Linked DNA regions of Homo sapiens: regions 1 and 3 are each linked to region 2. The links are contacts of gene promoters, found by promoter capture Hi-C in blood cells and fetal thymus (Javierre and others, 2016). All regions are on one chromosome and are shown on one strand. Each heading gives the region's core, a stretch centred on a gene start or on the middle of the fragment in contact. The rest is flanking DNA. Distances are from core to core; before and after follow the strand shown.

Region 1 (3,209 bases), core at 243-2,742, 750 kb after region 2:
CCCACCTCGGTTTCCCAAAGTGTTGGGATTACAGGCATGAGCCACCGCGCCCGGCCAAATTCTTTTTAGGAATTAGGTACTACATTGAGTTTTAAATGCACTCAGAAAATTCTCAAAGTAATAAATTATAGACTAAATAAATATAGCGGAATTCAGTCTAAATTATAGGAACTCCTTTTTTGATAACTAATATTTTTAAAGTACTCACTATGTGCTACGGCACTGTGCTAATCACTTTACTGTGATTTATCTAGTAATACCGTATGATGTAGGTACTATTATCACCCCACTCTAAGGAGTTCAAAGAAATAAAGAAACCTCCACAGTGTCATGAAGTAGCCCCGCTAGGACTCAGGCCTGGCTGAATCCAAAGCTCAGGCTTCTAAGCATAACGTGTACTGCTGCTTCTCAGGCTGCACATTCTATTTTACATTATTGGTAGTTTCTCTCTGGCGTTCTTTGTGGGAATGTTCACTGCCCCCGCCCCGCCCCGAAGTGGAACCCTGTCTTCTAACAAACTTTTCGCTGCTCCACCGTCTCCTGTCATGTTCCGCCTCTCAATGGAGTCCCAGCCCACACTCCGATTCTGGTCCCTGAACAGAGCCCCTTCCCCTCACACCATGGCCCCCTAGCAGAGCCTGGTCTCCTCAGATCCTCTTCTCCCAGCAGGGCCCCAACTCCTCACTCCGACGATTCCCCCAGAGTTCCGTTCCCTCAGATCCTGCTTTTCCAGCAAAGCTGCGATTCCTGTACCCCAGCAGAGAGCAATACCCCGTCGGCAAACTTCCACAGAGACATCTTACCGAGGTCCCAGCCCAGCCCCTAATTAAGGGCACACCTCTACCTTTCCCCTTCCCAACCTTCTCCCACAACTGTGCTTTCCCCCGCCCTATTCCCTTTTTCTGTTTATTAATTCTCCTCAACCTCTCCACCATCTCGTGGCCCAGTTTCAGGATTCCCCCGCAAACTCACCCACCGCACTGTCTCCTCAAAGTTGCGTTCCCAAACGGCGCAGTGCTCTGCCCGCACTTACGCTCCCAGCGCTGCTTCGGGATCTGCGCTCCCCAACTGCCCTCCGGGAATACGCCCTGCAGTTGAACAGCGCCCGAGGCCCCGCCCCCTCTGCGTCCATTGGCCATTGTTCTCGAGAAGTCCCGCCCCTCCCGCTTCCAGCCCGCCTCCCCGCCCCGCTTCCCTTGTTTTCATTCCCCCTGTCACACGAGGCAGTGGCAAGCCCGAAGGGGAGGAGAGAAGGGGGCGGAAAGAGGGCGGAAAGTGAAAGGCGCCGAGGGCCGCTCTGTCTCCCGTCTGACTCGGTTCTCGACTGCTCCGGGCCGCCGATGTATTGTGGGATCGCGGAGCCGTCCCTGAGACGCTGGGATCCGCAGAGGAGCCCACTTGAGAGCGCCTCCTGTCGTCTGTAAGGTTGCCTTGCCATCCCTCGGCACCACAACTTCCCCCGCCCCCCCATCGCCTCCTCCTCCATCCTCCAGTTCAAAATGGCGACGGCGGCGGCAGCGGCGGCGGTGATGGCTCCTCCGGGCTGCCCGGGTTCGTGCCCCAACTTCGCCGTAGTCTGCTCCTTCTTGGAGCGCTACGGGCCGCTGCTAGACCTGCCTGAGTTGCCGTTCCCTGAGCTGGAGCGGGTGCTGCAGGCGCCGCCGCCGGACGTCGGCAACGGAGAAGGTAAGCGAGGGGCCCGAACGCCCGGCGGGAAGCGGCCCTGGCGCTCTGCTACTCTCCGCTCTTCACAGGCGCCCCGGTTCTTCGCGGCTCGGGCCTCCGCGGCTCTGTCTTCCCCCTGGGACGCAACTCCGCCGGGCTGGTCTTCTCCGCCCAGCCCCCGGGGTCTTGGGCAGTGGGGAGGCGGGGCGGAGGCCCCCTAGGGCCACTCGGCCGGGCGGGGAGCTGAGGTGGAGGCGTTGCGGGCTAGGTGTGGGCTGGAGGCGGGGAGGGGTCATTGTGCCGGTCGGCAGCCCCGGGGACTGCTTCTCCGCGGCGGAGGGCGGCCCCCCACCCCGTCTCCCCCTTGGCGGCGGGGGAAGGGGAGCGCAGGTTCCGGCCAGCTTTGCGCTTTTCTCCTCCTCCCCACCCTTACTCCCTCCCCTCCTCCCACCAGTCTTCCCGACCATCTCGGGGAAGGCTGGGCTCGGCTGCTCCGGACACCTCCTTATCTCCCTTCACCTGGGTGGGCGGGGGCCAGCGGACACTCAACTCTCCCTCCCTCTGTTGGGAACTCCCCTGAGAGATTTGTCCCTTTTCCCTTCCCCTCGAGGGCTGCTTTAACCCCTAAAACTCCTTCCTTGAAGTGGGGAGGTCTGCTCCTCCCCCACGGGAGGGGGTTCTTCTCCATTCTCGGTAGGGGGGCGAAGTCGGTTCAGCTCCACTGTGGAGAGGAGAGGGTTAATTCCTCCTCCATAGTTCTCCTTCCTCTCCCCACCTCCCCCAAAATAATAGGCGAGCATCTCCCCACTTTTCCAATCCCTTCCCCCTTCATCTTGGCAGCCGGGCTTAGGCGAAGAAGTCGTCTCCCTCCCATTTGCACGGTAGGGTGGGGTGGTTAGTATGTAAGCTGGAGGAGGGGCTCTGACGGAGGGGGAAACAGTTGAAGAAGGTGCTTGTTGCTCATGTTTCTCTCTCTGGTGCCGCTGGTCTATTATTGGTGTTCGCAAGTGGTGCTCCTTCCACATAAGGCCACCGCGCGGGTGCAGGGCGCATGCTCTGCCCGGCCCCATTGAAACTTCCTGCTGCTGCTGCTGGTTCTTTTGCTGGAGCATCTCAGCGCTGCGCCTGCTGCCTCCAGCCTTCACACTGAGTGCTTATACTCACCCCCATTTATTCCCGATCCCTGCCTCTCCTTTTCTGGCACTTTTCTTTCCTCAGAGAAGGCTTTTTTGTTATACTCTGAGCATTGCCTTTATCTGGAAACAGCCCTTGGCTGGAGAAGAAACGTTTTCCAAATAGGTCTCTTTTTTTGTCCATATTAGCTGGCCAAAGTGGATTGGTTATTGTACAAGACAGATAGCTGTTTCCTTTCCAAGAAAGCAGGGTCGCTCTTCTATTCTCTATGTAAATGAAGAAGTTTCTGTTAACTGAATTTATTTGCATTGCTAGGAAGCGCCAAGTATGAAGTTCTTCAGAATATTACCTATAAAGAATCTGTATGATGTTATGGCTACCGAAGACTCAAATTAATACAGCAGTTATAA
Region 2 (3,299 bases), core at 366-2,865:
TTACAATTTTTCCAGGCCATTTGCCCTCCTGGCAACCTTCCGTGTTCACCTTCTGGCAGGAAATTTTCTTACATGCCTACCTGGCAAAATATTGATCCACTTCAAAAATTCAGCTTAATTTTCTCCTTCTCTAGACTATATTATATTTTATCCAACATATTTTATATTATAAGTATATAATATATAATATATCCAATATAATTTAATTATATATTATAATTTATAATTATAATTTTATTATATTTATAATTTTAATTTATTAAAAGAACCAGGGAACACATTTATATTATATAAAATATAAAATTGTGATACATGTATATATTATAATTGTATTATATTTTATCCAATATAATATTTGGATAAAATATCAAAAATAATTTTTTGGATAAATTTAAGAGGTAGCCTAATATATAAGGGTGACTTTTCAGTCCAAACAAATGCAGACAACTCATACATCTATGTGTGCACTTACTGGTTTATATTTCAGTAGTCTCTTTTCTTGCTTGTCTCCATCTCTAAAGCATGAGCTCCTTGATGGAACAGATCACCTTGGGACACTATGTAATACAGCATACTGCTTAAGTGCATAGAGCCAGCACTTCTGGGTTTAAATCTCACACTTAGGGAATGTGTATCCTTAAGTAGGTCATCTAGCCTTTCTGTGCGTAAGTTCTCTCATTTGTAAAATGGGTATAATAATAGTAGCAACTTTAAGTAAGGTAAAAGTGAGAGAGAGAGAGTGAGAGTGAGAGGGAGCGGGAGAGAGACAGCGAGGGCGAGCGCTGGTCTTGAACTCCTGGGCTGAAGCAATCCTCCTGCTTCTGCCTCCCTAAGAGTTGGGATTACAGGCGTGAGCCACCGCACTTGGCCAAACGTTTTACTTTTTAAATTAGATTAAAAACCTTTTAATGACCGTCATTGAGTTACAGAATTTTTTTTTTAATAAAACGTAGCCTAATATATAAAAGGGTCATTGTTTCCAGGTCAAACAAATGCAGATAGCTGTGTTGGAGGGCAGAGGGAAGAGGGAGACTTGGAGGATTCTGGCAGGAAACACTCGAGTTTCCTCCAGTCTCTGCAACATCTTCCCACCGTCTTGCCTGCCATATGCAAGGTCCCTCCAGTTCCTTTTATTTACCTGTCAGAGGACTACTTTCTCCAGGAAGCCATCTCTGGCGTCCCACGCTTAGGCTCTGTCAGGCAAACTGATCGCCCTTTTATGCAACTGTCTGTTTAGCTGTCTGATACCACACAACTGTGACTTGCGCATTGGGGCTATGTCTGATTTTTCTCTGCGGAGTACTCAGGAAAGGAACGACTGATCTCTTCAAGCGAATCCTGTTAACAGCTAAGAGCCTCCTCTTACTTGGATCCCTATTGTTGACTGATGGAGACGGTTTCCCTCTCCATCAGTCACTCCTTGCCTCTCAGTTTCTCAGCCTCACCTGGAAACTTTAGAAATGAAGACCCTCAGATGTGCTCCCACGTTCTTTCAGCGATAATCTCTACAACCTTAGGGCATTAGCTCCGCCCCGTCTCGGCTCCTGACCCCGCCCCCTCCCGCACGCCTCCCTAAGCCTGGGTCACAAGTACGCATGCTCTCCCTTCTTCCCCGTAGCGTGATGACGTAAGCGGCGTTGGCGTGGTGTGGTAGGAGTGGTTGCGCGTGTTGCGGCCCGGGTTCTGTTCGTAGGTTTACAATTGTCGCGGGTAGTGGGGCGCCCCAGCTGCCAACTGCACGTGGTTTCTTTCTGGCGTTTGCCTAGTGTCCTGTCCATTCCGCCCCGTTGGGAAGTGGGAAGCGGAGAGGTTCTGTGGGGACAGAGCTGGGAGTCCTGAAGGAGAAAGCGCGCAGCCGAGGGGCTCTGGAGTGCCTTAGAGCAGAGCTGCGGCCGCGGAAGGGGAGCAGCTGAGAAAGGAGGGCCGCTGCAGGCGGGGTTCGAACCGTGGGGTCTGGGCTGCTCCCGCGGAGGGCCTGGGCGGACGCGGGATGCTGGGGGTCCGCTGCCTGCTGCGGTCCGTGCGCTTCTGTTCCTCCGCCCCCTTCCCCAAGCACAAACCTTCAGCCAAACTGAGCGTGCGGGACGCTCTCGGGGCTCAGAACGCGAGTGGGGAGCGCATTAAGATCCAGGTTGGTGAATGGGAAGGGAGTGGGTTTTTTCTTGTAGGGACTTTTATATGGCACATCCACATCTAGCTTTTCTTTTACAGTCGGGTCAGACACAACCGCCAGCAGGGAAAAGTTAGAAAGTGTAGGCGTCGCGGGTTTGCACTTTTCTGATTTCCATTACTTTTCACAAAACTGTTCCGATAACTGTAAAGCGCTGGAACTTTGCTTTCATGATTCCAGGGTATTACCTGTAAACTTGTTAATCATACCAAAAGTGTAAATGAACAAGCCCCCTTTCTCTATCTTTATCCCTTATAATGAATATCCAGGTTTATAAAGTGGTTGTCTTGACCTCCCTCCTTGAGAGCAGAAACCGTGTCTTACCTGCCTTTGTATTCACACATGGCTGACAGCAAATACTTGTTCAAACCATGCCTTTTAAACTTTTAGCGACCTCAGTGCCTATTGTGGGGGTCTGCATGTAATTTATTTTTAATGAATTCGGAGAAAGACTGGAATGTAGCAGTTTGAAAGAGCTCTGGAGTTAAGCTGCTTAGGTTTAAATCTCTGCATAGCGTTTATGCGTTCTACACCTTATTTTCCTCTTATGGAAAGAGATAATAATTGTCCCTGAGTCCTGAAAATTAAATGAGGTAATGGAAGTAAGATATTTAGAACAGTGGCTCATAGTCTACAAATGTTAGCTGCTATTGTTTCTCTTGCTGATTATATTATTTGCAGCAGCTCCACATAGAAGAGGTGCAGAATAAACAAGGTGTTTGACTGTTTCTTATTAGGTTGCTGAAGTACACTGATGTGGTTATTTATTTTTTGAGACAGGGTCTAGCTCTGTCACCCAGACTGGAGCGCAGTGATGTGATCTCAGATGACTACAACCTCCATCTCCCAGGCTCAAGCAATCCTCCTGCCTCGGCCTCCAGAGTAGCTGAAACTATAGGCATGCACCACCACACTCTATAATTTTTTAAGTTTTTTGTGAAGATGAGTCTCACTGTATTGCCCAGGCTGGTCTCAAACTCCTGGACTCAAGCAGTCCTCCTCCTTCGGCATCCCAAAATGCTGGGATTACAGGCATAAGCCTGGTAGATGTTGTTATAATAAATACTTATTTTTTGAGTAGGTTCTTGCTTTGTCACCCATGATTGTACTGACACAGTCATGGCTTGCC
Region 3 (3,445 bases), core at 282-2,781, 690 kb after region 2:
TACGTCTCATCAATACCTAATTTATTGAGAGTTTTTAGCATGAAGGTTGTTGAATTTTGTCAAAGGCCTTTTCTGCCTCTATTGAGATAATCATGTGGTTTTTGTCTTTGGTTCTGTTTATATGATGGATTACATTTATTGATTTTCGTATGTTGAACCAGCCTTGCATCCCAGGGATGAAGCCCACTTGATCATGGTGGATAAGCTTTCTGATGTGCTGCTGGATTTGGTTTGCCAGTATTTTATTGAGGATTTTTGGTGGTGGATTCATTAATTTTTTGAAGGGTTTTTTGTGTCTCTATTTCCTTCAGTTCTGCTCTGATTTTAGTTATTTCTTGCCTTCTGCTAGCTTTTGAATGTGTTTGCTCTTGCTTTTCTAGTTCTTTTAATTGTGATGTTAGGGTGTCAATTTTGGATCTTTCCTGCTTTCTCTTGTGGGCATTTAGTGCTATAAATTTCCCTCTACACACTGCTTTGAATGTGTCCCAGAGATTCTGGTATGTTGTGTCTTTGTTCTCGTTGGTTTCAAAGAATATCTTTATGTCTGCCTTCATTTCGTTATGTACCCAGTAGTCATTCAGGAGCAGGTTGTTCAGTTTCCATGTAGTTGAGCGGTTTTGAGTGAGTTTCTTAGCAAGGCCTGCGGACCCTGCCCCGCCCCCTCGCCGGGCGCCTCCCACCTATTCTACACCTCTCGTGTCTCTTCACCCTGCCAGACTAGAGTCAAGCTCAACAGGGTCTTCTTTCCCTGCTGATTCCGCCAAGCCCATTCCCTTGGCTGTGGTTTCGCTGGATAGTAGGTAGGGACAGTGGGAATCTCGTTCATCCATTCATGTGCGTCACTAATTAGATGACAAGGCATTTGGCTACCTTAAGAGAGTCATAGTTACTCCCGCCGTTTACCCGTGCTTCATTGAATTTCTTCACTTTGACATTCAGAGCACTGGGCAGAAATCACATGGCATCAACACCCGCCGCGGGCCTTCGCGATTATTAACTCTTGTAAGCCTAATCTAGGTTACTGTATTCTACCTGATGATCATTCATACTGGCCATTTCCTTCCTCTGACCTACTTGGGCCACAGGTTTCTAAGCTCCACTTTTGGAGTAGACAAATGAAAGAAGGCTTCCAGCAACCATTTCACAGAGGAGTGAAGGCCTTTCACCAAGGACAGTTTTGCTGAGAATGCTGGGAATTTTTTTTTTCTTTTTTTTGAGACAAGGTCTCTGTCTGTTGCCTGGGCTGGAGTGCAGTGGCATGGTCAGCTCACTGTGACCTCAAACTTCTGTGTCCAAGGGATCCTCCTGCCTCAGCCTCCTGAGTAGCTGGAACTAGAGATACACACCACTACACCTGGCTAATTTTAATTTTTTTTGTGTGGAGATTGGGGGGTCTTACTTTTTTGCCCAGTCTCGTCTTAAACTCCTGTCTTCAAGCAATCCTCCCGCCTCAGCCCCGCAAAATGCTGGGATTATAGGCATGAGCCACTGCACCTGCTGAACACAGAAATTATGGCCCCTGTTCATTTGTTTTTCCCATGATCATTGCTGTTTCAGCCCCCCTCTGCCCTTCTTTTTCTTTCTTTCTTTCTTTTTTTTGAGACAGAATCTCACTCTGTCACCCAGGCTGGAGTGCAGTGGCAGCGATCTCAGCTCACTGCAACCTCTGCCTCCCAGGTTCAAGTGATTCTCCTGCTTCAGCCTCCCAAGTAGCTGGGACTACAGGCACACGCCACCATACCCAGCTAATTTTTGTATTTTTAGTAGAGAAGGGGTTTCATCATGTTGACCAGACTGGTCTTGAACTCCTGACCTCAAGTAATCCACCTGGCTCAGCCTCCCAAAGTGCTGGGATTACAGGTGTGAGCCACTGTGCCCGGCCCTCCCCTTCATTTTCTAAAAAAAAATGAAGCCCAAGCACTTGTCTTTAAAGATAATAAGGATCAGGAAACTGAGACACCTGCATTTTTTTCCTATAGTAGGTTTGGGAGCTTGGAGCCTAGAACTAGAGTGGGGAGTAGCAGCTTTAAGAAATAAGGGTAGGCCAGGTGTGGTGGCTCACGCCTGTAATCCCAACACTTTGGGAGGCTGAAGTAGGAAGATCACCTGAGGTCAGGAGTTCGAGACCAACCTGGCCAACATGGTGAAACCCCATCTCTACTAAAGATACAAAATTAGCCGGGCATGACGGTGGGCGCCTGTAATCCCAGCTACTTGGGAGGCTGAGGCAGGAGAATCACTTTAACCCGGGAGGCGGAGGTTGCAGTGAGCCGAGATCATGCCACTGCAGTTCAGCTTGTGTGACAGAGTGAGACTATCTCAAGAAAAGAAAAAAGAAAAAGAAAAAGAAATAAGGGTAGGCTGGGCACAATTGCTCATGCCAGTAATTCCAACACTATGGGAGTCTGAGGCAGGAGGATCACTTGAGGTCAAGAGTTGGAGACTAGCCTGGGCAACATAGCAAGATCTTGTCTCTACAAAAAAATTTAAAAAGAAAATTACCTGGCGTGGTGGCACGTGCCTGTAATCCCCACTCCTCAGGAGGCTGAGGCAGGAAGATCACTTGCGCCCAGGAGTTTGAGGCTTCAGTGAGTTATGATCGTGCCACTGCACTCCAGCCTGGGTGGCAGAGTAAGACCCTGTTTTAAAGAAAAAAAAAGAAAGAAAGAAGTGTAGAATCAGGGGGAGGCCCCATGACCTGAGGAGAGATGAAGGATTATAGGGCAAGTGGGTGAGACATGCCTTCCGCAGTTTCAACATTGACCACAGTTTCAACATTGGAAGACCTGTGTGGTTCCCTACTCTGCCTTCATAAGTATATTTACATAGAGCAGGTCCTAGTCCTAGGATAAGCTTCATTTGTTCCTCTAGTTCCTTTGTGCGCTGCAGTATAGTAGGCTGTCTACACAGGGAGCTGGGAGGTCCCCCAGGATGCTGAGGAAAGAACTCTGTTGCAGTTTATGAGCCTTAAAGAACTGGCCAGTGATTTGAGTGGACTCTTCATTGAGCCGTCTCTCCGTAGAGAGAGAGATAAATGACTTCCTAGCTGCTTGCAATGTAGTGGAAAGAATGCAATTACAAAATAACTCCAAATACTGGTGGTTGGTGATGGATGCTGGGCCATGGTATGATTCAGAGCCAGGGAGGGAGTGCTCTTCTGGTGAAGGTGCCTGAGAACACTTTTCATAATAAGAATTAATATTCTTACCTGTCTTTGCGCTTAATAGAGACACTCTGTTCATATTACTTATTCACCATGAATTCAGGAAATGTTTACTGAACACTGCTTCATGCTGGATTAGGGGAATAGAGATGTCTACAGTGTTGACCTACCCCCAAGGCTCAATCTTAGTAAAGTTGGTGTCATGTTTCTTCTTGTGTTTTGAGGTTCACAACAGATGTCATCATCCATTTTGTTAAATGCTCCTCTCGCTTCTGCCTTTTT

The links. Contacts are between HindIII fragments. The CHiCAGO score rates a contact against its expected background, and 5 or more counts as called.
Region 1: the fragment with the promoter of RSF1 here is called in contact with the fragment with the promoter of NARS2 in region 2 in 5 of 17 cell types (non-activated CD4 T cells, fetal thymus, total CD8 T cells and 2 more); the score reaches 7.3 in non-activated CD4 T cells.
Region 3: a fragment that was not itself captured here is called in contact with the fragment with the promoter of NARS2 in region 2 in 2 of 17 cell types (fetal thymus and neutrophils); the score reaches 6.0 in fetal thymus.

The regions. Positions count from the first base shown.
Region 1 is chr11:77,819,005-77,822,213 of GRCh38, reverse strand. RSF1 (remodeling and spacing factor 1) reads left to right here and starts at 1,492. Exons shown (of 16, transcript NM_016578.4): 1 at 1,492-1,686. The coding sequence starts at 1,500. AAMDC (adipogenesis associated Mth938 domain containing) reads right to left here and starts at 1,070. Exons shown (of 4, transcript NM_024684.4): 1 at 973-1,070. RefSeq lists silencers at 1,033-1,192, 1,783-1,872, 2,013-2,102 and enhancers at 1,293-1,432, 1,443-1,612, 1,165-2,137, 2,733-2,842, 2,138-3,111. The HindIII fragment of the contact is 10,465 bases long and covers 1-3,209 here.
Region 2 is chr11:78,573,180-78,576,478 of GRCh38, reverse strand. It overlaps NARS2 (asparaginyl-tRNA synthetase 2, mitochondrial), which reads left to right and starts at 1,615. Exons shown (of 14, transcript NM_024678.6): 1 at 1,615-2,131. The coding sequence starts at 1,991. RefSeq lists enhancers at 1,320-1,459, 2,120-2,229. The HindIII fragment of the contact is 10,208 bases long and covers 1-3,299 here.
Region 3 is chr11:77,883,974-77,887,418 of GRCh38, reverse strand. The region is part of intron 21 of INTS4 (integrator complex subunit 4); the gene reads left to right. It also overlaps a transcript of AAMDC not described here. Among named protein-coding and RNA genes, the nearest start is that of AAMDC, 65 kb to the right of the region's middle. The HindIII fragment of the contact is 2,648 bases long and covers 208-2,855 here.